Regions from separate parts of the Homo sapiens genome. Here all the other regions are linked to region 1. The links are contacts of gene promoters, found by promoter capture Hi-C in human tissues and cell types (Jung and others, 2019). All regions are on one chromosome and are shown on one strand. Each heading gives the region's core, a stretch centred on a gene start or on the middle of the fragment in contact. The rest is flanking DNA. Distances are from core to core; before and after follow the strand shown.

Region 1 (4,399 bases), core at 1,019-3,518:
TGGAAGGGGAAAAACTACAAAGATATGGTTGACTTGAGAGGGAGGGGGGGAAAAAGAAAGTGTTTTCTTTTTTTCTTCGAATATTATTTTGAAGGCTGCCTCCCCGTTCCACCTTTCCAATCTCTCTTTTGAACAGACAGACATTTTCTCCATATTGGATAAAGGTTGCCTTCTCTCTCCATTACAGCCCCCACCCTCACCCCACCCCAACAAACCCAGTATATTTCCATTCTGCTGTGTTTTTGTGTTACTCAACATGCCATTAACTTTAAGATTTACTCCTCAGCAGGCAAGCTGGAAGATACTAAAGCCAATAAAAACTGCTCTCTGGGACTCCAACTATGAAGAGTTTGGAGCTCTGTTTAGTATTCGAACGAAGGGAGGGCTGGAGAAAGAGGGTGGTTGTGATAGTGAAAATCGCTGCTGCTTAGAGAGCCAGACAGCTCTGCGCTCTGCACCTAATGTGCTGGAGGATCAGCTGTGTCCATAGCCCATTTGTGGCCAAGGATGAGGCTGCTCTCTATGTGGGGGTGGGTGTGCGTGTGTTTTCATCTTTAAAACCACCAGCTGTAACAGCATCTTCGGCGGCTCTCCACACTACTGTTTATTAAAAACGGAACATCCATACACATCCCCTACAACTTCCTTAGCCCCGTGCTCCTTCCCTGCCTGGCGATCAATCTCTCTCAGAAAGCATTTAACTTGCCCACATAGATCCAGCACCGATTCATTCCCGCTGCACATCCTATATATTACTGTTAGGAAGCGGAGCACTGGGCTAATTTCGTCACCCACCAGCCACCCACACACATTCTACAACTGAACACGTTTGGGGCTCTGCTTTAAAGATAATAAAACAAGGAGAAAACAGGCAGGCTGCGGACAATTCCCATGACCACTTTCCTAAAAAGTTGCTGTGTTTTAATTCTTTGATTATTCTGTCTCCCCCTCCCCCAAGCACTCACTGGCAATGATCGCTTCAAGGGAGAAATAATGTACTATAAAGCTCTCTGCATGGTGAGTTTGGGATAAATTAGGGTACACCTTTCAAAATGCAAATCTCGCACACACATATTTTTTTCCCAAAGCCCCGCTTTCCTGGGAAGGGGACTATCCAGGCTTGCCAGACCCCCCACTCCACCCAGGGGATGGCTGGTTCCTTGCTAATTCTTGCCTTAGGTTTTATCACTGGTTCCTTCAAACATCCAACCCCCCCACCCCCAACACACACCACCATTCACACCACAATCAGATTATTGAGGCACACAGCTCGACAGGGAGAGTTTACTGTTACATTTAAATAAAAATTTCTCTTTGAATTTGTCACCTCTCTCCCTTTTAGACGGCTGCGCTCCTGCTACTCTAGCCCGGAGCAAAGGATGAGGAGACCACCTCCTTTAGTATTTTCAGCACCACGGCGATGGACAGCACCCTCGGTCCTCGGCCGGCCAGGAGCCCGCGAGTCCGTCCGCTCAGCGTCCTGGGCTCGACCGGTGCAGCCTTCCCCATCCCCATCTTTCAGGTCGCTGTACCCAAAAATCCAAGCCCCGTCTCCTCGATCCCCTCTCTCTTTCTCTTCATCGGCGCCCGCTGCTCTCTCCATGGCATCGTTCCTATCAGCACCTCGCCCAAAACCCAGTCTTGCCCCAGCGAACAGCTCCCCACGCACCCCAGCTCTGGTCTCCGCTGCCCGAGCGCCTCCCTCCACCGCGCCCGCCCGAGGCTTCCTCTCGCTTAGTCCGCCGCTCGTCAGTCGCCGGCCGGCCGGTCGGCCCGCCAGCCCGCTCCTGCTCCCCGGCAAAGTTGGGAGGGAAAGGTGTACTCACCTTTGTGCATGCCTGTGAACCTGTCCTTCAGAACCGTAAGCTCGTAGATTTTGCCAAACTCCTCGAAGAGGGGCTTGAGGTCCTTCTCATCCAGGTTGCGGGGGATCTGCCCAATGAACAGCTTGATGGCATCGTGGTCCTTCATGGGAATGGTCGACGGGTTCCCCGGGCTGTGGCTTAATCCGTTCATGTGCCCGGCACTGCCCGGGCTGCTGCCGAGCCCGTTGGTACTGAGGCTTGCGTTGTCAGCCTGTCCGTTTGCTAACGTGGCCATCTTTATATACATAGAGAAAATCTTCTTTCCTTTTATTCTTTCTCGCTCACACTCTCTCGCTCCTCTCTCTCGCTCGCTCGCGCTCACACACGCACACGCATACACACACTCGGGTTCTCTCCCCCTCGGTTTCTCTACACCTCGCTCTCCGCTCGCTCTCTGCTCTCTCTCTTTCTCCTCTTCTCTCGCTCGCTCGCGCTCGCGCTCTCTCTCTGCTCTCCCCCCTCTCTCTCTCCCTCCCTCCCTCTCCTCTCTCTCTCCCTCTCTCTCTCCCTCTCTCTCTCCCTCTCTCCTCTCTCTCTCGGTCTGATCTGATTTTTTTTTTCTTTTTTTCTTTTTTTTTTTTTTTTTTTTTTTTTTACATTGAACAGACAGGATCTCTGTCCTTTCCGTTTAAACAGGCTGGACCGGTTCAAGTTCCCAGCCAGACCAGGGGTGGGGGTGGCGAGTGTGCGCGCGCGGAGGAGGGCGCGGGGGGCCGGGAATGGGCGCGCTGTGGGGGCCCGCGCCACGGCGGGCGGCGGCCGGGGGCAGGGCGGCGTGGGGCGGCGGCCACCGCGCCTCCCCCGTCGGCGGCCCCGCGCCGTGGCGATGGTACAGTCCGAGACGGCCCCCGGCTATAAATAGCGCCAGGCGCATGGCTCTTCGGGAGGCGCTGAGATTCCGGGCCCGGCGGCCGCGGGGAGCGGGTGTCCGTGAGGAGCCGGGCAGCCGGCCTCCTCTCTTTGCCTTTTGGGGGTTCTTTTTGTAATAGCAGCAGGTGCAACTTTTTGTATTTTAAAAATAGTGATTTTTATTTTCGTGTGGGTATGTAGGGGGGCTTTATCCACCAAGCTATGCTCTATTAGGGCGCCAGGCGGGCGAAGCAAAGGCAGGGATGGCGGGCGGGGCGGCGGCGGAGGTGGAATGGGCGCTTTTTTCTTCCATCTGGCTTTATTTATTTATTTAGACTAGAAAAGCGAGCCGGCTTGGAGGGAGTCCGCCCGGGGATCCGAGCGCGCATTCATCAGTGTCGAGAGAAAAAAAGCTACATAAATATATATTATGTGGATAAATCTATAGACAAGAGCTCTCTCGCGCGCGCTCTCTCCCTGTCTCTCTGTGTGTGTCTTTCTCTGTTTTTTTTTCCTCCTCGCACCCCCAACCTGCCAGAGCAGCCCCACATCTTCCTCCCGCCCGGCATCTACCGCCACCCAAGCCACCTGCCAGGATGGGGCTGGGAGCTGTCGGGCCGCGCCGGGGGGCAGAGGGACGGGGAGTAGAGACTCGGGGTCCGACCCCCGCCCCAACCCGCTTCCGAAGGCGGAAGGTGGGGGTCCCCGTCCCGGGCGGCCTCCCCCGCCCCGGAGAGCGCGGCTGGTCCCCCGGTGGCTGGCGGGAGGAAGGTAGGAGTCGGGCGCCCCTGCCCGCTCGCCCGCCGGAGGGGGAGGAAGGCGCTGGGCGCGGTGGCCGGTGAGCCAGCGCGGGGGATGGCTTGATTTGCCCTCGTCTGCTTTACGGGTTCAAATAGAATATATTTTTTTAATCACCATCAAAAGAATAAAGCCCCTGAATCGCTATCTGGGTTGCCGCCGGACCGAGACTCGCGCGGCGTGCGCTGCCCCCGCGGGTTTCGTTTTCGGCACCTACAGCTCCCGAGGTGCGAGGCTGAGTCGTTCCTGCCGTGGGGACCGGGGGTCGAGCCGCCCGGTCCGGACCCCGCCGGACTCCCCGCCAGGCCCACTGGGGCTGGCATCTCGGCTGCGCGGGAAAGGGAGTGGCAGGCGCGGAGCCGGGAGCAGGGTCCGAGCGGCCCCGCCTGTAGGGGTGAATACTGGTGGTGAACTTGGCTGGGGTAGCAGATTTTCACGTTAATGATATTTACCTGCACCCCGTCCTCTCTCATGTTTGCTTTTTCAGGGCAGCCTCTTCGCTTCAGAAGCCTGGCAAATTGAAATAACGCGCCCGCTCCCCCGCGGGCTGCGGGGCTGGGGAGCTGGGGCGGCGGGGCTGAGCGGCTGGCCTAACCCCCGCCGGCCCTCGGCTAGCCACTTTCGGGTTTCAGGGTTTCTCTTTTCTTGCCCTCGGATTACATTACGTTACTAGAGGATATGTCTGCAATTTTAATTAAAGAAATGAGACCCCAGCTGCCTGCAAACCCAGGCCAACCCCATTTGGTACAAGCACAATACGGAGCTCTCCAGCGCCGGAGGAGGCCCGGAGGCCCGAGGTTCGCAGCCCCAGGCCCCGAGTCCGCTCAGGACGCCTCTCTCTGAGGATCCCGGGCCCAAACCAAAGAGCAAGTATGATTTTTAGAACT
Region 2 (4,399 bases), core at 1,394-3,893, 230 kb after region 1:
GAGCTTGGGTCATGTGCTCATCCCTGGCCAATAACTGTAGTCAGAGGGCTGAGCTACTATGATGAGCAGGCTGGGGTATGTGACCACTCTTATGAACTAGGAAGGGGGGTTCTACCTCACTACAGCCACATGGAGTGGGACGAAGACAATTCCCTGCAATTGGACTCTGGCCAGAGGAAGGGTCAAAGAGATCTGGGACATCTTGAAACAGCAGGTGTTCCATCTGTAGGCCAGGGCTGCTTGGTGAGGCCCAGAATGGAAAGATGTAAAGGCTCAGCAAAGGAGCTGCACTGTGGGCTAGCCAGAGAAGGATGGCTCCCTGGGAAAAGCGGGACCTGAATGAAAGGTGTTTTGGAGAGGAAACTGCATCCTTCCTCTGTCCATGGAAAACAGAGGAAGAGCAGGAAACTGGGCCATGCTTGCTTCTGCAGGGTCCTCGCTGTCAACGAGTGGTGGTTATCTAATAGGGGTCCCTGCCGAAGCCACTTAGCAGCACTCATGCTAAGGGGTGGTGATCTCCAACCCCAGAACTGGGGCGCTCTGGCAAAGGCAGCCTGTAACCACCCAGAGTGTAATTTGTCAGAGACACGAAGGTTAACATTTTTCTTCACAAAAACTGTCTTTAATGGCCATCAGCAGTCAGGACCTCTGATTTCTGTCTCATTTGAAAGCTTTTAATGCTTTCAGAGGGATAGATGGGGTGACCTAATAGGTCTTTTCCATCTCTGATTTTCTATGATTAATGAAGTTCAATTGTGCAGAATAAAATGGTGAGTTTCTCGGTGTCACTTCAGCTGTATTCCTTTTCCCTCCCTCTTTCTTTCCTCATTTTTTTTTTTTTTTTAGACAGATGATAATCATGCACATTTTCTCTTAATGCTTCAGGGAAAAAAGGGACTTTTTCTTCTGAGCCAGGCTTTGAAAATGTCAAGGTGGGTGTATTTATCTGTAGTGTAAATTGTTGCCAAATGTCGCTCCTCACTCCCCACCCCCAGGATAGACTGGGTGTCTACATTAAAGGCAATATGAACATTGAAAATGTGGAGACACTCTCTGTTTATAGAGCTTATTAGACTTTTTTCCAAGTACCTTTATAAGAGACATGTGTTTAATCATGTCCTGACTTACTGTCTTCTGGGGTAGACATGAGGACTGTCTAACCCTCTTTTGTCTGAAGGGCAACTGAGGCCCAGAGAAGTTATGGGACATGTTCTGGGCTCCCTAACCAGGTGAGGGGAAAGCCACCTGCAGGGCTTGTTGGATCCACTCTGCTCCATCTGGGATTACAGTGCAATTTTTAAGGTATCTCATGGGAAAATTGTAGAGGAATTCAGTTTCTCCCCTTGTCAGCCTGAAGTTTTTCCTAGGCTAAAAGTTCTGGGAATTACGAAGAAGCCAGGCCTCTAGAGAAGCATCTTAGGAGCAGGAGGTTTTTCACTCTTATGCACTCTTTGCATTTGGAAGAAAGGCTGCAAGGATAGGATTTCCATGGGTTTGTGTGTTTAGCCTCTTTTTTGGTTAAAGGACATAGATTATGCTTCTCTGAATTTCTGGATATATCGCTCAGCATGGAAGACAGTCAAAAGGGGGTCAGACAAAATTCCTTTCAGGAGGAGCAAAGACTGTCAGTTTGACAATTCTGCTGCCTTAGAGTCCTGGGACAGTTCTTCAAAGAGACTACATGTTGATCCGTAAAAAATCTAATCAATCCATCGAAATCCCCAAGTGACTGAATTTAGACTGCTTCCGTATTTCCAAGATCCTGGAAATTCACAAGAGAAAAAATAACTTCCAACATTGTCATCGGTAAAGGTCCTCTGGCCTGGATTATTGCAGATTCAAATACATAGAGCACATACCCTGACTTTTAATTGACGCTCTTAAATAATCCACGTGTGCTAGATACGTGCTAATAAGGGGCAATGGGGGCTGGCCCTGCAGCTGGCTTATGGCCTGGCAATTTCACCTATCTCTCTAGATGAGGGTAAAAAGCCTCTTCTGGGACCATATCATGGAAGTAGTCATTTTCTCTGCTCCCATATCTCAGTCTTATGTTTTGTGATTTTGGAGTCACCCCTGTGTGAGCTATGCACTAGTGAAAGCTCCTCTCCATGGCTCCGCCCTTTCGTGGATTGGATTACAAAGGAAGCAGGTGTTGCTCCTTGAAGTTGAGCAATAGGGTGGGTCTCATTTTAAGTTAGAAACAGACTCAATGGTGCTTGAGTGGGATGGGTGAGGTCTAGTGAACGGAGCCCAGGATCCATGTAAATCCTCAGTGAACACTTTCTTACAGGAGATTAGGCAGCTGGTAAAACATGAAGGCCTGGTCGAGGGAAACAGGTAAGTTGGGAGATTTTCTTATCCATATTCTAAGGCCTAGTTCAAGGGGTAGTTCAAATCTGCTACTTCTGTGAACCCTGCCTACAGTCTACACTTGCCTCTCCTCTCTGATCTATATTAGTAAGAATAGAGTTTCTCTGAATGAGTTCCTAGGACCATAGGCATTGCTGTGGTTTGAATGTGTCCCCTTCAAAATTCAGGTGTTGCCAATGTGGTAGTATTAAGTAGTGGGGCCTTTAAGAGGTAGTTAGGCCATGAGGGTTCCTTTCTCGTGAATTGGATTGGTGCCCTCACAAAAGTATTTGATGGTGGGAGTTTATCCCTTTTCGCCCTTTTGCCTTGCATTATGTGAGGACATAGCATTCCTCCTGTCCATAGGACACAGACTTCAAGATGTCAACTTGGAAGCAGAGACTGGACCTTCACCAGACACAAAACCTACTGGTGCCTTGATCTTAAACTTCCTTCCCAGCCTCCAGAACTATGATAAAATAAGTTTCTGTTTTTCATAAATTACCCAGTCTCAGGTATTCTGTTATAGGTGTGCAAAACAGACTAAGATGGGCGTTTTAATCAACTTGAGCTTCCTGAGACTCAGGATAGAGTGGCAGAGCTAGAATCCCTGGAGGTGAAACTCCAGGATCTGCATTTAGTCTGCCCACCTCTCCAAGGAACATTGCGCACCCAGGTTTGGGAATAATGGCCAGGACTTTTTTTATTTTACTTTATTTTTTTTTAACTCTAAGTTCTGGGATACATGTGCAGAACGTGCAGTTTTGTTACATAGGTATACGTGTGCCATGGTGGTTTGCTGTCCCTTACCAACCTGTCATTTAGATTTTAAGCCCTGCATACATTAGCTATTTGTCCTGACACTCTCCCTCCCCTCACCCCCCACCTCCTGACAGGCCCTGGGATGTGTTTTTCCCCTCCCTATGTCCATGTGTTCTCACTGTTCAGCTCCCACTTATGGGTGAGAACATGCGGTGTTTGGTTTTGGTTTTCTGTTCCTGCGTTAGTTTGCTGAGGATGATGGCTTCCAGCTTCACGTATGTCCCTGCAAAGGACATGATCTCATTCCTTTTTATGGCTGCATAGTATTCCATGATGTATATGTATCACATTTTCGTTTGTTGTTGTTGTTGTTGTTTTGTTTTTCCGAGATGGAGTCTTGCTCTGTCACCCAGGCTGGAGTGCAGTGGTGCGATCTCAGCTCACTGCAACCTCCGCCTCCTGGGTTCAAGCGATTCTCCTGCCTCAGCCTCCTGAGTAGCGGGGATTACAAGTGCCCGCCACCATACCTGGTGAATTTTTGTATTTTTGGTAGAGATAGGGTTTCACCACGTTGGCCAGGCTGGTCTCAAACTCCTGACCTCAAGTAATCCACCCTCCTCAACCTCCCAAAGTGCTGGGATTACAGGCATGAGCCACTGCGCCTGCCCTCACATTTTCTTTATCCAGTCTATTACTGATGGGCATTTGAGTTGGTTCCATGTCTTTGCTACTGTAAACAGTGCTTCAATAAACATATGTGTGCATGTGTCTTTATAGTAGAATGATTATATTCCTTTAGGTATATACCCAGTAACAGGATTGCCAGGTCAAATGGTATTTTTGGTTCTAGATCCTTGGGGAATTGCCACACTGTCTTCCACAATGGTTGAACTAATTTGCATTCCCACAACAGTGTAAAAGCATTCCTATTTCTCCACAGCCTCACCAACATCTATTGTTTCTTGACTTTTTAATAATTGCCATTCTGACTGGTGTGAGATGGTATCTTATTGTGGTTTTGATTTGCATTTCTCTAATGATCAGTGATATTGAGCTTTTTTTTCATATGTTTGCTGGCCACATAAATGTCTTCTTTTAAGAAGTGTCTGTTCATATCCTTTGCCCACTTTTTGATGGGGTGGTTTTTTTCTTATAAATTTGTTTAAGTTCCTTGTAGATTCTGAATATTAGACCTTTGTCAGATGGGTAGATTGCAAAAATTTTCTCCCATTCTGTAGATTGCCCATTCACTCTGATGATAATTTCTTTTGCTGTGCAGAAGCTC
Region 3 (4,399 bases), core at 921-3,420, 220 kb after region 1:
CACATACGCCACCCCACAGAGTTCATACATGCACCCCACAGACACACACACAGAACTCACAAACATACACCACCCCACAGAGTTCACACATGCACCCCCAGACACACACAACTCACACACATACACCACCCCACAGAGTTCACACACGCACCCCACAGACACACACACAGAACTCACACAGACATACACTGCCCCACAGAGCTCACACACTCACCCCACAGACACACACACAGAGCTCACACACACACACCACCCCACAGAACTCACACATTCATATGCTGCCCCATAGAGCTCACACATGCACCAAACAGACATACACAGAGCTCACACACACATACACCACCCCACAGGGATCACATACTCCACCACACAGAACTCACACATATACCCCACAGACACACACACACAACACAGAGCTCACACATGCACCCCACAGACACACACACACACACCACCCCACAGGGCTCACACATGTACCCCACAGACACACACACACATACACCACCCACAGAGCTCACACACATACCCCACAACCACACACAGAACTCACACATACACTACCCACAGAGCTCACACATGCACCCCACAGACACACGCAGAACTCACACACACACCACCCCACAGAGCTCACACATGCACTCCACAGACACACACAGCTCACACACACATACACTGCTCTGCAGAGCTCATATATGCACCCCACAGACACACACACAGAACTCACATGTAAATACATCCCTCCACAGAACTCACAATGCACCCTATAGACACACATACACACACACACAGAACTCCCACATAAATACACCACTACACAGAACTCACACACAAATATACCACACATGCACATAGAACTCACATGAAAATACATTCCCCCAGACAGAACTCGCAGTGCACCCTGTAGAGACACACACACATATACACATACACATACACAGAACTCCCATATAAATATACCACACATGCAGAACTTATAAATATACCACACATGCACCTAGAACACACATGCAAATATACCACACATACACAGAACTCATATGCATACATTGCAGACAGACAACCCACAGACACTCACAGAATGCACACACATACAGTACACACATGTACTTCACACACATTACCACTGACACACAGATCTCTTGCACACACATTGACGGTATACACACAAAGCACACACATACAGTACACACATGTACTTCACACACATTACCACTGACACACAGATCTCTTGCACACACATTGACGGTATACACACAAAGCTCACACATATGCACACACTGCCGACAAAGACAGAGAACCCACATGGACACACAAACCTCATAGATTTACACACAGGACTCACATTACATATGTACACACTAGACAGCGCGCACCCACAACCATACAGACACATACACACATAAAGGCTGTCTTAGTTCATTTTCTGTTGCTACACAGAAATTTATGAAGAGGAGAAGTTTATTAAACTCATGGTTCTGGAGAATGGGAAATCTAACAGCATGGCATCGGCGTCTGTGGAGGGCCTTTGTGCTGTATTATAACATGGTGGAAGGTATGACATAGCAAGAATGAGGGAGCGTGCATGCATGCGTGTCCACTGAGGCCTCTTTCTCTTCTTATAAAACCCCCAGTTCCATCATGGGGTCTCCACTCTGATGATTTGTCTAATCTTAATTACTTCCCAAAGGCCCCACCTCCAATCAACATGTTAATTTTGGGATTAAGTTCCCAACACGTGAAATTAAGGAGACATATTCAAAGCATAGCAGAAAAATAGACCCACACATACATGCATGGGCTCTCTTGAATCTGATTTTTTCTTTTGATTCAATATGTACATAGAAGTTTTATTTTTTAAAAGCTTGCATAGGCCTGTGCAGTGGTTCACACCTGTAATCCCAGTGCTTTGGGTTGAGGAGAGAGAATTGCTTGAATGCAGGAGTCTGAGACAAGCCTGGGAAACAGAAATACTCTGTCTCTACAAAAAAATGAAAAAATAAAATTAGCCAGGCATGGTGGTGCATGCCTGTACTCTCAGTTACTCAGGGGGCAGACGTGGGAGGATTGCTTGAGCCCAGAAGTTTGAGGCTGCAGTGAGCCGTGATTGCACCACTGCACTCCAGCCTGGTGACAGAGCGAGACCCTGTCTTTAAAAAAAAAAAAAAAAGAAATAGAAAGCTTGTGTAGTATTCAATTGTGTAGATCAATCACATTGTAGCTAATCAAATCCTACTGGTGGTAATATGAGTTTATTTAAAATATTTGAATTAAAATAACAAAAAAGGAAAGCTATTGGTTTTTCATGATGTACCAGGCTACATGTATTACGTAACTTAATCTTTACATCAACTCTGCAAGCAGAAACCGAAGTTCAGAGAATTTTAGAGCTTCTAAGTGCCAGAGCCAGGAACCAGAACTAGGAAATCTGTCTCCAGACTTACCCTCAATATGGGTTGGCTTTCAATGAACATCCCTATAGATATATGTTGCTGTGGGAAAAGCTCCTTCAAGAGGAATTCCAAGTTCAGGCGTATATACATTCTCTACTTTATACTCATTGCTGACCTGGCCTTTAGAGAAATGGACCAATGAGTGCATTTCTTATTTTCCTTCATTTTTGCCAGGACTGGGTATTTTTATCTTTGCTATTTGTTAGGTAAAAAAGTCATATCTAAGTATTAGACAATGCCCTTTAGGAAATCAAGTTTTGACTGGCTTGTTTAGAGAAGGCTTTGTGGTGGAAGAAAACATTAACTTTGAAGGATAATTAGCTTTCCAGTAGCAGAGGATATCTTTCTTGAAGATAGGAACAGTGGCATTAGCCAATGTCCTGGGATTCTTAGTGGTCTTGGGGCTTCAAACCTACTGAATTGCATGGGGAAGTCTCTCAAAACTTGTTTGTCACAATGACACTCGGTCCTGAGGCTCAGCGTTTGGAAGATTTGCCTCCTGTAGACATAGACACAGTTTAGTTTTAGGAGGTGGAGGAGAGAGTGTGCATGGTGCTGAGGAGTCCACCTTCAACTGTGACACTGTGCTAGGACTAGCTTTTGGAAATGGGACACCTTAGAAACACAATGGTGGCAGATTTGGGACTCTGTGTGTGGATTATTTACCCTTGGTGGCTTCTCAGGCTTCCCATGCAAAGCAGGCATTATCAGAGCAGCTCTGTGGTGTCAACTGCTTATACCCTCCAGCCTGAGCTGGTCACTGCTAGAGGATTCAGTCTTGCTGTGTGTTTTAGGCCTAGATCTCGCACAGGTAGCTGCTTGCTGCCTTACAAACCATGGCTCTTCCAGGTCCATGTTTTATTGGATCATGACAGAATGATGCAGGCATCTCTGGAGGTAAAACTGGGTCTGTGCCATATCCCCAGCCTTCTCCTTGCCTCCTCATCAGAGCTGCCTACAGCAGTCCTGCCCTGTCTCCATCACCACCTGCCAACCTCTTGCTCAGCTCAGAGCCCGTAGAGCCAGGCAGTACCAGGCAGCTCCCGGAGTTCACTCAGCCGTTGCAGATTTGACACATGATCAAAACTGCAGCTATTCCTTTCTCAAATTCCACCTTCCTGAGTTATTTTAAAATCCAGCTTTTTCTTGCCTGAGAGATTGGATTTCCAGCTTGTGTTGTAAATTTGCTTATAAGTGGGCTCCTTTCGCACGGTGGAAAGGAGAACAAGAAAGAAAAAACAAACAAACAAACAAACAAAAACCACCACAGGGGAACTGCTCCTTCCAGAGCCAATGTGGCCTGAAGACTTTTGTTTCTACAGAGAAGTTTTTGTCCCAAGAGCTGGGGCTGAATAGAATAGGATAGAATAGAAGCTGAGTTATAGCCAGGAGAGAAAGGTGGATGGGCTCTTTCTCCAAGTCTGAAAAATCTGTCAGGGCCTAAAGAAAAGCAGGCAGCAGGAATACATAAAAGTAGTTGGCTTTATTTTCTCCTTGCACCTGGTTTATAGGTGCCTCTGTGTCTGTTTACTCCTGGACCTTATTCGGGGGTTTCCCCTTGCCTAGCCTGTGCGCAAGGACCACCCTGTGGGCCGGAAGCCTGTCTGACTTCTCTTCTGGTCCAGTGCACTTCCGGCCACCCTGGTAGTTCCATACAGATCGGGAGACCAGAAAGGATGGAGTTAATTATGTTTGCCAAATACAACAGACACTGCTTATTTGCATGAATATTGTTCCCAATTTCTCTTTTATATTTTCTGTATTATTTTTATCACACATTTAACTTTTACACATATGTCGTAAACACAATACATTGCTGCTATTTTTGCATTAGTTCTCTTTTAGTGCTGTTAAAAATAAGAATGAAAGAAATTTTATTTTTCCTTCATTAATTCTGTTTTCATCCCTCTTAATTTTATTTTGTGCAGATCTTAGTCTCTGATTGATCT
Region 4 (4,399 bases), core at 1,303-3,802, 200 kb after region 1:
ACCTCAAGATAAAAGCCTACATAGGTACCTTTGCAGAGTTTTAAGAGAAGGAAAGTTATCTGGTCCAGCTCCCTTGAAATGAATTGATGAATTGCATAACTCTTTCAGCTATGTAGTGGCAGAATTAGGAAACAAACCCGAGTCTCTTACTTTGAGTTAAATGCTCCTTACATTGCATTTCTTTATGGGATGAATATTATACATCACCTACAGAGATATGCATTTAAAAAGAGAAATATGCAGAGGGCAATAATTAACCCAAACTAGTAGTGGGATTTCAGACATTTTTGTTTTATCAAGTGAGACACTGTTGGGATATTGCTGGCATATACACCTTCCTGGTAGCTCTTGGAAGGGGCCAGCATTTTCCTATGAATTAGACTTGAGGTTTCCAACACATATGGGTTGAAATACTGATCCCCTCAACCAAGTGGAGTTTGGGACAGCCTTCTTCAGGTTCCATATTCTCTCTTCTTCACCCTGAGTACCCTATACAAATATGATCATTTTCTATGAGTGTCGTGAAGCTATAAAGTTTGGGAAGTATCAGCTTGGCTGGACTAGCTGGTCCATAAGACCAGACTTTGCCTGTGAAGAGCTAAACCATCAGCATATAAAATTTTTTGAGCTTCAGTTTCCCTATCAATGAAATTGATATAATTCTTATCTGGCAGTTTTGCTGTAAAGATTCATTGAGACAGTCCAGTATAGTGTCTAAAATATCATAGATGCCTAAACTCACTGTGAGTTGAAGGTACCACTATCTTTTTTGGTTTGTAATTTTATTTGTTAAAATAGAGAACACAAAGAACTTCTGGCTTTCCACTACCGTCACAGCTTGGTAGGTGGAATTGGAGATAGCTTGGCTGTTTGAGCTTTGAGCTTTGGCTGTGACCTGTTTCTGCCTTACTTCGAGTTCCATTCAATCCACCAGCAAAGATCTGGTCTGATGTGGTCACTATGGCTTAAGGTAGCAAAACTGGAGCTAGGCTCTGCTGTCCTCACTTCCTCAAAAGCACCCAGGGCTCAGCTCAGGCCTATCTCTGCACCCCAACCCCACCCCACTCCCCAGCTGCTGATCTCATTCTTTTGCCAGGGCCAATTATAATTAAAACCAGATTTGTAGGGAGAAACATGCGTGCACACACAGCCAAAGCCTGGAATTGCTTACCCGAAAACAAGTTCCCTCCTCCTTCTGCTCCAGTTCTTCAGCCTTACCAAGAGTAGGGGAGGGAAGTGGAGAGAAGAAATAGGATTTGCATTGGGCGTGCTGAGGCAAGGTGATCCTGGGCAAGTGACAGGCAAGCAGTCATCCTCCACCTCGCTAGTTTTTGGACTAGCTCAGGGCAGCAGCCTCAGGTTGCCCAGTGGAGTCCAGCCCAACAGCAGCACTTGGCCTTCCCTCCCTTGGGGTGGGTCACTGTGGGTTGAGCCCAGCACCGTGGGGGCCAGGGCTGGGCTGCTTGCCCACTGTACCTCATTATGTATTCCTTCATTATTTCCTATGCAAATTAAGTTAATGAGAATTAGGAACATAATGGAGCCCATTCACCGTTCTAGTCGCTGGAAAATGGGTTTGACTACCAATTTTCCATTACAGCTGTTTTGTAATTACCGTGGAATACTCTGAATTCTAATGGAGACACTGAGCTGCCTGACAGCCTCTTGACTACTTTTTTTTTTTTCCTGGAAGGTTGAAAAAAGGAAACTCAAACCCTATAACATAAAAGCCTTTCTATCAGAGTGCCTCGGTTTGCTTCTCCTATGGAGATGTCCTCCACTCTTGCAGGAAAAGTCTGCTTCCATCACTGGGGTCCTGACCTTTGCTGTGATTAGACTAGTTAACCTTTTTGCCAGAGTTATCCCTTGCCTTGCAAGCAAGCAAAATGGAATTTGGGGCTACACTCAGCCAGGAGTGGCCTTCTGAAGCAGGCCAGGGCAGTCCAGGGTCCAGGTGTACCACTGCTCCTGGATCACCTGCTACCCAGCCTGCCTCTCCCACCTAGGACTCCAACCAAACACCTCCTCACTCACCTGTTGCTGTTTGGGACACTTAAGAGTATAGGGGTTATCTTAGTCCATTTGGGCTTCAGTGTACTGTAGACTGAGTAGCTTATAAACAACAGGAATTTATTTCTCAAAGTTCTGGAGGCTGGGAAGTCCAAGATCAAGGTGCCTGCAGACTCAGTGTTCTGTGAGGGCCCGCTTCCTGGTTCATAGCTAGCTGTCCTCTTACTGTAACCTCACATGGCTGAAGGGGTGAGAGATCCCTCTGGGCCTTCTTTTATAAGGGCACTAATCCCATTTCTAAGTCACTTAATCACCTCCCAAAGGCCTCACCTCCAAATGCCATCACATTGGGAATAGAGTTTCAACACATACATTGGGAGAGATGCAAATATTTAGTTATAGCATTTCACTCTGGCCCCTCAAAATTAATGTACTTCTCACATGTTGTCAATTCAAAAGCCCAAAGTCTAAACTATCTTCTAAATATCATCTAATTCAGATGTGGGTGAGACTCAAGATATGAGTCATCCTGAGGCAAATTCCTCTCTAGCTGTGAATTTGTGAAATCAAACATGTCCTGTGCTTCCAAGATACAATGGAGGGACAGACATAGGATAGACAATCCTCTTCCAAAAGGGAGAAATAGGAAAGAAGAAAGTAGGAAGAGGTCCTGAGCAAGTCTAAAACCCAACAGGCAAATTACATTATGCCTTAAGTCTCCTTGGCTTGATGCTTTGCTCTCTAGGCATACGGTGGTGGGGGTTCTGTCTTCTAGACCGACTGAGACAGCAGTTCTGCCTCTGCAGCTTTGTTGGACATGGGTTGAGCCCCCAAGGCTCTGGGTAGCCCTGTTGTCTCAGCTTGGGGCACAGCCTCTGCCACAGCTCTCATGGGATGGAGTTGTGTGCCTGATGCTCTTCCAGGCTGCGATTGTATGCTGGAGGCTCTACAGGTGTAGGGTCTCTAGGGGGACTCACCCCCACAGTTCTGCTGGGCATTGCCCTAATGGGGTATATTTGTGGTGGTCCCAAACTTCTCAGTGGCCCTCTGCCTGGGTTCCATGCCAGCAGCTCCAGTCAGCTCATCCTCTGGAATCTAGGTGGAGGTAACCACATCCCCAAAGCTTTGCTGGATACAGGGTAACCCCGACTAGGGCCCACTGAAGCCACAATTTGGGGTGGCTGAATTGCTTGGAGTTGCAGTGTGGGGAGTGAAGCCAGTGATGTGAGGCAGTGTTGGGCAATGCAGGTGGATACTCCTCTGCATTTTTTTTTTGTAGCTTCTTTTGAGATGACTGACTAATCTCTATTGGACAGTTATTTGGCCACACCCTTAGTATTCTTTCCTGAGTAGTCTTTCTCATTATTTTCAATGCAGATATTCTGAAAATGTTCCAATTCTTTAGGTTCAGTTTCCATATTGATTAATAATTCTGTTTGTAAGTCATTTCTTTCTTTTCACATTTTACTCTAAGCAGTCAAAAGGAACTAGGCCACTCCTTCAATACTTTTAAAGATATTTCCTCCGCCAAATTTCCAGTTCTGTTGCTTGCATGTTCTATCTTCCACCAAACACTAAGACATGAACACAATCCAGCCAAGTTCTGTGCCACTTTATAATAAGGATGGTCTTTCCTTTATTGTCCAATAAGTTCCTCATTTCTGATGAGGTCTGAGACCTTATCAGAATGGCCTTTACCAGCCATATTTCTACCATCATTCAGTTCAGAATTACTTAGATATTCTCTAAGAAGATTGAGGCTTTCTCTACAGATCTCTTTTCTTTCTGAGCTCTCACTAGAATTGCCCTTAAAGATCTGTTACAACAATGTTGGCTTTTTCTGGCATGTGTCCCAGAACTCTCCAGCCTCTGCCCATTGCCCAGTTCCAAAGCTGCTTCCATATTTTTAGGTATTTGGTATAGCAGTACCTCACTTCTGAGTATCAATTTTCTGTCTTAGATCATTCAGGCTGCTATAGCAAAGTACCATAGATTGGATGGTTTATAAGCATCAGAAATGTGTTTCTCACAGTTCTGGAGGCTGAAAGACAATGACTGAGGTGTCAACAGATTTTGTGTCTCATGAGGGCCTGCTTCCTGGTTCATAGATGGCCACCTCTTCTGTCATGTCCTCACATGGTGGAAGGAGTAAGGGATCTCTCTGGGGCCTTTTATATAAGGGTACTAGTCCTATTCATGAGGTCCTCTGCCTTCATGACCTAATCACTGCCCAAAGCCCCTACCTTCAAATACTCTCACATTTGAGATTAGATTTCCACATACAAATTTAGTCTTTGCTATAATAATCCCCTCTTTTGTTTTATTTTACCACTGACAAAGACTCTCTCCTTGATCAGACTTTGATAAGGCTCCCCTGAGACCTCTTCTC
Region 5 (4,399 bases), core at 1,188-3,687, 180 kb before region 1:
AAATAAATGGGGAACATCACGGGTCACTTCAGCTGGCCAGAGTGGCTACTGTCATCCCACTTGCCATCATGAGCTCCTTTACTCATGAGCAGAATGGCTAAGGAGCCCCTCCTGCTTTATCTGCTCCTTCTTGGACCAGGACCCATTCTTCACACAGGTCACCCAGTGAGGTGGCCAGTCCTGCCTGTCCCAGAGCCACCTGCCCTCCTCAGTGGACTCATATCCCTCATTAAACTTACTAATGAGTACGGAACCATACGTCTCTGATTTGCTGGGTCAGTCCTCATTCCAAGCCTTTTCTCCCTTTGTCCTCATAAATACACACTTATATTTGTCAGGCTGTGTGTCTGATTTTTTTGTTAAGGAAATGTGATCACTAGGCTGGGCGTGGTGGCTCACGCCTGTAATCCCAGCACTTTGGGAGGCTGAGGCGGGTGGATCACTTGAGGTCAGGAGTTCGAGACCAGCCTGGCCAACATGGTGAAACCCTATCTCTACCAAAAATATAAAAAATTAGCCGGGTGTGGTGGCATGTGCCTGTAATCCCAGCTACTCCGGAGGCTGAAGCAGGAGAATCTCGAATCGCTTGAACTCGGGAGGCGGAGGTTGCAGTGAGTGGAGATCAAACTGCTGCACTATAGCCTGGGCAACAGTGCAAGACTCCATCTCAAAAAAAAAAAAAAAAAAGAAAGAAAGAAAAGAAAGAAAATGTGATCACCTCTAACTAGATTAATGCCGTGGTGGTGGCAATGATAGGCATGTCAAGGGAAGTAGGGGTTGCTACTGGCTGTAGTTTCTCCCCATCTTAGCTTGTCCATGCCACCTGGTTAATCAATTAGTCAGTAGTCAATTAGGCCAGTAGTTAACTGAGCCAATGTCTCCCCTCCCCTCCACCTCCCCCAGCCCACAATACCCTCTTGCCTACTGGCTTTATTCTAACCTGATTCATTCTGCAAACCCTGCCTTGGGCATGGAGCCAGCCCTCCCTGACCTCCTGTCCAGAATGCTTTTTCTATGATATTGTGCCACACACCTACAGTTTTGTTTCTCTAGTGGTTTCAAGTGCGAATCCTGTTTTCCCATCTACATGGGAGCTCTCTGCTCCACAGTACCTGGCAGAGACCCCACATGTGGACTATTTTCAATATGTATTTATTGATTTTCCAAAGTACTTTCATCAGTTAACACATTTTACCTTCATATAAGTCTGTGAAATGACAAGGCTGTTATTTTCAGATACTACACTCATAGTGCTCAAGTGTGACATTTATTGAAACTTCAAAAGTTTAGATTTAAGAATTAATTTAATCCAAATAAACTAAACTTGCAATTCTAAATATGGCCACCAGGTGGTGGAATCTACCTTGGTATATTCTTTTTGCTTTGGGCATATTACCTGGAGATGATGAATGAATGTATTGATTTTTCTCACTCTTCTGCCACCTTAATTTGCCTACTCTTATATTCCAGGCACATACCCCGCTGTCCCCCTAAAGAATGTCTGCTCTGTGGACCTGCAGATGTACAAAGAGGATGACAATTATTATGTGATGTGTTGAAATAAACAGTGTTCTGGAAGCTTAGAGAAAGGAATAATTAACTCAATGAAGAGGAAGCCTTTACAGAGGTGGCAACATCAGAATGAGGTAAGTAAGGAGGAAATAAGGTGAGAGTGGTGGCTTACAGTGGTAGGAGGCTGAGCGAGGATACCTTGCGGTCGTGGGGAGAGACGGGAAGGCAGTGCTGTGTGGAGAGGCCAGCTTGAGGGAGAACCAGCTTGAGGGAGAACCAGCTGATGGGAATGAGGAGAGTGAGGCGGAGAGCCGTACTGACTCAAAGACTGTCTAGATGATGGTGCCATTAACTGAGAGTGAGAACACACGCTTCCCCACTAATTATCCTTAGAAAAAGTCAAAATAGAACTTTTGATTGAATTAAATTAACTTGAACATGGTGCCATTAAACGAGATTGGAAAGTCTTCTAAAACAAGCCTATAAAGAAAAAACACCTAGGTACAATTCAGTCCCTTTCTCAATAATCTTTAACTGTTATGGTCCTAAATAGTCTCTCTTTTCCTAAATAGTTTCCTCTCTAGGGTTTCAAAGAAGAAGCCCTTGACTGCATGTTCACCTCTTCACTTTGTTCTCATACCTCAGGGTATGTACAGAGTGGGGCTCTGTGAATTCTCTTAGCATTAAAAAGGTGTTATTGTCTTCTGTAGGACAAGTTTGTACTCTCTCTCAGTGACCTGAAGAAGAAGCCACTGGCAGGCAGAAATGATGGACTGTGCCTCTCACTGGTCCTGGGGCTCTCTTGGCGATAGAGAGACGGCACGCACGGGGCTGAGCCTGCTGCGCTGTGGAGGCGGCTCCCCAGCCCCGGCTGGCCTCAGTGGAGGATGTGGGGCTTTTGCTTTGATCCTTGCCCATGGTACAGATTCTAGCAGTAAGAAGAGACAGATGGCCCCCAAGTTCCCCTGGTTCCTTGTCCTGGGCATTACTTTGTGCTGCCCCTTCCTCCCTGCCTTTTCCCGGCAACCAGGGCCATCCCGAGTGGGGGGCTGGGCCAACTGAACCCCATGGTGAAGCTGAACCCATGCCTCTGGGCCAGGCCTTGCTCCCTCCCCAAACCAGCAGAGCAGCAAGGGGCCCTCACAACCTGCCCTGGGACCCTGGCTGGCTTCTGCCTTGGTGGGATGAGGCCTGGATACCCAGAACCACACGCAGCCAACTGCTTCCTTGACCTCCAGCGCCCCTCTTCTCACGGGAGGCTGTTGTTCAATCCTGGAGATTCAGGATCCAGGGCCCACCTCGTGCTGGGCCCAGCTGAGTCCGGCTTGCCAGTCTCCACCCCGAGAGGACTGAATTCAGTTGCTTCTTCCAACTCCTTTGGACAAACCCAGAGTCTCGATGTAAAGTTGAGGACTCTGGTCTGGGGCTTTTTCTGGCCTCAGGAGGCTGGTGGAAGAGTCCAGGGCTGGCTGAAGCTGCAGGTTTTTCCTTGTACCCTAGCAGCCCTTCTGCGGGTGGGACTTTGTTTTGCAGCATCCTGAGCAGATCTTCATGTCCTGCTTTCCAGTCTGACCCTTTGCTCCTTCCAGCTGTAATCCCAGTAGATCTTGGTGCTGGCCCACAGCATCCCCAATCCTGGCGAAGGAGCCAAGGGCAGGGAGCCCCCTGCACTCTCTCATCAGAACAGAGGAAAGTAGGGCCTCATCTCACCTGGCCTGGGGCTGGGGGAAGCCAGCTTTCTCCCTAGTATTCATCCAGACCCTCCTCCTTCCCACCAGCTGATGAGGTTCTGTGGCCCTCTGTGGCCTTTATTGTCATTGTCCCTGCTTTAATGCCACACTCGGTGGAAGGCAGGAGTTGGGGGAGGGGGGAGGGTACTGTACAGCGCAGTGTGATTTGGGTAAATCCTTTGGGGCAGGTTTCATTGAGGGGAGAGAGGAGGGATCACCTGAGGTGTGAGAGGGGCTTCTCTAAAGGGAAAAAGAAAGGTGAGGCTGAGGTCTTCAATGCCAAGCTCAGCACATCTGTCAGGCTTGGTCCTAATGGTGCCAGAAGTCATGCACCATTGCGTGAAGAGATGGGGTAGGGAATACTGTCCCTTCTCCCCAAACAGGCCACCTGTGGCCTCTGACTGCACTCTGACGCTTCCTCCTTTCCCAGCTCCTCCTCTGTCTCCCTCTGCCCTTTGCTTCTCCTCTTCCCTCCCTTCCCTCCTCCTTCTCCTCCTTTCCCCCCTCCTTCTCTCTCCTTCTTCTCTGTCTTCCTCCTCCAGTCTCTCCCATCCTCCTCCTCTTCCTCCTCTCCCTCCCCAAGGCCAGTGGTGCCCTGGCCCTGGTTAAACCTGGTGTCATGCCCTCTCTAGCTTTCCTGTTGCATTTCTCGGTTACTAATGAGCTCAAGACAGCAGCAAACACCCTTCTAGGTCTGCTGCTGTCATTCATTAGCATAATGGGCCATACGAGAAGTAGTTATTGCAATAAGTGCGGTGGGGAGGGAGAAGCCAAAAAGTCCAACTTACATGGGAGTAGGGGGCCTCCCAGAGCCTCCACAGAACATGCTGAGGATGCCTCCCGAGCATGCCCTTCCAGTCTAAGCCCCGACACCCTCTGCTTCTGCCTGGAGCACCTCAGCCCTTGTCACCCTGGACCCTCTTGTCCAGGAGACCTTTTGCAGTGCCCTGAAGGGTGACCTGGGCCATGTCATCCATCGGTTAGTTACCAGGGACTTCCTGGGTGCTCCTGTGCACCTCTTGATGGCTCTTTCTGAGGCTTCCAGTGAAGGCTCTCGGAGGCACCACCCAGCACCTCATGAACAGACTGGGGTCCTGCCCTGGTGAAACAGGGTGGGAGTTAGCCCCCACCCCAAGTTCCTGATGGTTGGCTTAAAG
Region 6 (4,399 bases), core at 1,022-3,521, 150 kb after region 1:
CAGGCATTGTGAGAGACAGTTAAAGTCTCCCAGGTAGCTCAAGAGATGAGAGACACACAGCAAATAGCTATACTCACTGCTGAGGACAGTATATCTGAATGTGAGAACAGAGAGTACCTGGTTCAACTCAGCAAAAGAAGAGATGCCTTCTTCCTGTCATTATCCAGGAAAATTTTTCAAGAGGATTGCAACCAACTGTGTCTCACCTGGACTTCACCACTTCTCCAAGTGCTGGTTTCTCTTCTAGGCTCAGTCATGGCCTCTGGGCTCTCACAATGCACAGGTACTGATTGTATTGAGTGCTGGCAAGTCTGACAGGGCCTCTGAGTCACCATCCCCTACATTGGAGGAGTCCAGCACTCTGAGAATTTTTATGCTATGCTTGGTAAGTATCTAGCACACTTCCTGGAACAAAGTAAGTCTTCCCTAGGGATTTGTGGGTTGATTGAATGGGAACTTGAGAAGGAACTTCTGGGGTCATGCTGATGCAAGGTACCTCTGGCTTTGACTCTGACAAAGATGGGGTCCAGGAGGCTTTGTTGGGGAAGAAAAGGCCAAGACTGTGAGGGTGCTCCTAACAAGACAGAGATGCCCCTTGAGGACCTTTGTTTTCTGGGCTTTTCTCCCCACCTTCCTATCCATTTTGCACATATTGGCTTGATGTCTCCCTTGGGGAATTTGTTTTACAGCCTCTCTCCCTCTGGAGGCAAATTGCTATCTCTGTTTTAAAACTCTCACCAAGCCTCCACGAGGGGCATTTTGCATTCAGGTGGCTTTGGGGATAGTGACTGAGCAGTACCTTGCCAGAAGGTTCTTCTTTATATGCATACTAAGTTTCTTTTGTTGGAACTGAGGGTCAATTTCTCCATTCCTGGTTTTGTGGAACAACTTCCTGTGACCTCTTTTCTGGCATGGCTCACCTTCCCTGGGGTGCATTCAGGGATGAACCCAGAAGTTCTTCCCCAGCATTCTGCCTTCTGCTTCCCCTCACTGTGACCTTCCTTACAATGGTGCTGGTGGTCTCCCTCCCCTTAGAATCAGCCAGTGAAATTCCAGGGTGCATGGAGGATACTTTGCATGGGGCATCTGATTCACCATTGTCTGAATAAGGAAATCACTTCTTATGTCAAGGTTGGGAGCCCCTGTGAGCAGCTGGAGGGGCTCTCCCTTGGAGTGGAGGATCCCCAAGTCCCTGAACTCACACTGACAGTAGGGTGACTTCCCAGGGAGCTCAGAACCTCCACACTAGACTTAGCTGCCTCTCCTGCCACCAGTCTGAGAGGCTTCTGATGTTACAGACTGAATCTACTGTTTAATTTCTAACCTCCCATGGCTCCCAATTTAGGGCTCACCTATGGGGTCCAACCACTCAATTAGGGCAGGCATTAATGACAGTGGCTGCTTCTACAGTGTATTGCAGGAGGCGGCAGCACATCCCCAGTCCAGGAGCTGTTCATTCCTCCACAATGGCCGCCTTCAGGATTTCTTTATCAGGTAGCACCTTGGTAGTCATTAATACCATGGTAAACATCAGACAACATTGACCTGAGGATAGTGGGCTAGGCCTTGAAAAAATGGGGCAGGTAGGGGAGCAGGGCACCAAGATGGAGGAAAGGGCAGCTAATGGTTGAACTGAAGGCAACAAAGAACATTTTCCCCAGTTTTGATATTTTGCCAAAGGTGACCCCTGCAGCCCATCACATCCCCTCTGCAGGGCTTCAACCACCTATTCTAATTTTCTAATAATATGAATAGCTACTCTTTATGGAGCACCAACTCTTGAGATGGAGTATCTTTTTATTCCTACTTCACAAATGAACGAATGGAGGCTCAGGCAGGTTAATGATCTTCTCAAGGTGGCACAGCCAATGGGTGGTGGAGCTGGTATCCAATCCAAGCATGATCTCAAAACTGTTGTTCTCCACCACAGTCATTTTTTCCTACTGAACTCTCTCTCTTGTGCACTCTGTCTCTTGCACTTTCTGTCTCCTTTTCTGTTCTGAACCTGGTACCGACATGAATTTTAAGCTAGGTCAAGATTACTGATTTGTCTGGACCATTCATTTGCTTCCATTAAGAGTCAGGCAGGGAGAGTGGCAGGAATAACCTGGTATACATTTTACGAAAACCCCACAAGCTTTGAACACTCTGATTCTGTTCAATCTTTTCTCTCCCTCCTGTTCTTGGCAACTGTCCCTTAAGCCCGTCTGTTCTCTGCCTCTAATATATTATGCAGATATTTTATTACCAAACAATTAGATCCACTAACTTGAAAAGGAAACGAGCAGGAAATTGCAATTATAAGAGTAAAAGCAATGCTCTTTTATTTCTCCCCTTTATGCATATGAAATATGGTTTGTCATTGCTGCAAAACAGACTTTTCTCCTCTTCCATGGCTCTTCACTGCCTTGTCTTTAATAATTGAGCAGAAAGCAGAGTAATAATTAGATTCCTGGTAACAGGGGAGATATCCATAGATTTGCAGCATGTGGAGGCTCAGCTTGGAGCCATGGGGCCCACGACCATGCCTCCATGGGAGAAAGCATACTTCAGGCTGTTTCACTTGAGTACCTTCCAAAGCCTTCTGTACATCCATGGTCTTCTATGTAGATTAAATATTTGCTCACAATTATTGTTTCCTTTCTGCCTTTGCCATGCTTTCCCATCCCATTGACTCTGGGCTTGGCCAAGACTTCTTTTGGTCAATGGAATATGAGTAGATGTGATGTACAGCTCATTGTACTACACAGAAGCTTTCAATGTGCCTGTAATATTTGGCCCTACTTCTCTTGAGCAACACTCAGGATGGAGGCTGCTCCATCTAGGTCCCTGAGTGATTGTGCTGCACAGAAACACCCTGCTGACTCCTGATAGATACGTAGTGAGAGCAAGAAATAAATGTTTGCTGTTTTGAGCCACTGAGATTTGGAGCTGTTTTTAAATCACAGCGTAGCCCAGCCCAACCTGACTGATATGTCTGTGATCTCATTTGACTCTCATTATGTCCCTGGGATAGAGAAAAGGCTGATCACACTGGGTGGTGTCGGGGAAAGAGCGTGTGATGTGGAATCAAAGGGACCTGGGTAAGAAGGCTTTTCCCATCATTGCTGGCTGTGCAGGCTTATCCAAACAACCCAATCTCTCTGAAATCCTGTTTCTTTATCTGTAACATGAGAATAATAAAACTTACCTTGAAGATCCCTGTGGATCAGAGTCAATGTATGCCAAAGGTCCTGGTGTAGAACCCATCACAGAATAAGCAACTAATACAAGATAGTTGTTTTTTTAAAATTAGTATTTTATTTATTATTTTTATTTTATTTTAATTATCACTCTGTCACTCAGGCTGGAGTGCAGTGGCGCCATCTCGGCTCACTGCAACCTCTGCCTCCTAGGTTCAAGCAATTTCCTGGCCTCAGCCTCCTGAGTAGCTGGGACTACAGGCATGTGCCATCACGCCTGGCTAATTTTTGTAACTTTTGTATTTTTAGTAGAAACGGGGTTTCACCATGTTGGCCAGGCTGGTCTCTAACTCTTGACCTCCAGTGATTCACCCACCTTGGCCTCCCAAAGTAATCCATGCTAGTAATGGGATTACTAGCATGAGCCACCACATCCAGCCAAAAATTAGTATTTTAAAATCTCTTTTTGACATTGTTTCCATTGAACATATGGGAATGCTGAGCCTAAATCTGTTGCAGAGACCTGCCTAGGCAAATTAAATAACAGAGCCGGAATACAAGTTTTGATTTTCAGACTTTGTGTTCAGAGCTTTCTCCCCGGACTAATAAGTATTGCCTGAGTTCCACACCTGGAACTGTGCTAAGGAGGCTGGAGGGTCGGGGAGGCAAGTGTTAAGAATGAAAACATTGCTTCTCCAAGGAGTGCAAAGTCTACATGGTGAGATAAGCTAAATAACAGAGTTAGTTCCAAAGAAGCAGCTGTTTTTTTTAAGGCACACAATATTCTGATTTTCTAAACTTTGAATGCATAAAAGTGACCTGTGTAGCTTATTCAAATGCAGACTCCTTGGTCCCGCCCTAGAGTTTCCACTTTAATACTATCCTGTATGATTAGAGGAAGTAGAGCAGAGTGGGCTTTGGCACAAGGCTCCCTGGGTTCAAATCCCTCCTCTGGCACCTACAAATTAATTACATGATCTTGGGGAAGTTATCTAACCTCCCTGTGCCTCGGTTTCTTCATCTGTGAGATGGGGGTAACATTACCGGTTGTCTTATATTACAGTGAAGATTAAGTTAGGTAATATGGCTAAAAGACATGGCACTTAGCAGACACTTAGTAAGTGCTACCCATTAGTATTCTGATGCAGGATTTCTAAAAACCATGAGTCTGGGAACTTCCTAAAGGAATGGCCCAGGACAACCCTTTTCTCTGGTGT

What was found. Contacts are between HindIII fragments. The study calls those that stand out against the background at their distance.
Region 2: a contact is called between a fragment that was not itself captured here and the fragment with the promoter of CELF4 in region 1, in 4 of the 25 tissues and cell types used here (H1 embryonic stem cells, lymphoblastoid cells, mesendoderm cells and 1 more).
Region 3: a fragment that was not itself captured here is called in contact with the fragment with the promoter of CELF4 in region 1 in 1 of the 25 tissues and cell types used here (H1 embryonic stem cells).
Region 4: a contact is called between a fragment that was not itself captured here and the fragment with the promoter of CELF4 in region 1, in 1 of the 25 tissues and cell types used here (dorsolateral prefrontal cortex).
Region 5: a fragment that was not itself captured here is called in contact with the fragment with the promoter of CELF4 in region 1 in 2 of the 25 tissues and cell types used here (dorsolateral prefrontal cortex and mesendoderm cells).
Region 6: a contact is called between a fragment that was not itself captured here and the fragment with the promoter of CELF4 in region 1, in 3 of the 25 tissues and cell types used here (H1 embryonic stem cells, hippocampus and mesendoderm cells).

The regions. Positions count from the first base shown.
Region 1 is chr18:37,563,530-37,567,928 of GRCh38, forward strand. It overlaps CELF4 (CUGBP Elav-like family member 4), which reads right to left and starts at 2,269. Exons shown (of 13, transcript NM_020180.4): 1 at 1,827-2,269. The coding sequence starts at 2,112. It overlaps LOC124904288 (a long non-coding RNA gene), which reads left to right and starts at 2,748. Exons shown (of 2, transcript XR_007066345.1): 1 at 2,748-2,860; 2 at 3,050-3,159. RefSeq lists an enhancer at 1,813-2,316. The HindIII fragment of the contact is 29,207 bases long and covers 1-4,399 here.
Region 2 is chr18:37,796,486-37,800,884 of GRCh38, forward strand. No RefSeq gene overlaps it. Among named protein-coding and RNA genes, the nearest start is that of MIR4318, 140 kb to the left of the region's middle. The HindIII fragment of the contact is 8,755 bases long and covers 1-4,399 here.
Region 3 is chr18:37,780,494-37,784,892 of GRCh38, forward strand. No RefSeq gene overlaps it. Among named protein-coding and RNA genes, the nearest start is that of MIR4318, 130 kb to the left of the region's middle. The HindIII fragment of the contact is 3,779 bases long and covers 282-4,060 here.
Region 4 is chr18:37,763,601-37,767,999 of GRCh38, forward strand. All of the region lies in intron 2 of LOC105372073, which reads right to left. Among named protein-coding and RNA genes, the nearest start is that of MIR4318, 110 kb to the left of the region's middle. The HindIII fragment of the contact is 4,812 bases long and covers 147-4,399 here.
Region 5 is chr18:37,384,686-37,389,084 of GRCh38, forward strand. All of the region lies in intron 2 of CELF4 (CUGBP Elav-like family member 4), which reads right to left. Among named protein-coding and RNA genes, the nearest start is that of SNORA111, 80 kb to the right of the region's middle. The HindIII fragment of the contact is 8,601 bases long and covers 1-4,399 here.
Region 6 is chr18:37,712,632-37,717,030 of GRCh38, forward strand. No RefSeq gene overlaps it. Among named protein-coding and RNA genes, the nearest start is that of MIR4318, 58 kb to the left of the region's middle. The HindIII fragment of the contact is 5,321 bases long and covers 1-4,399 here.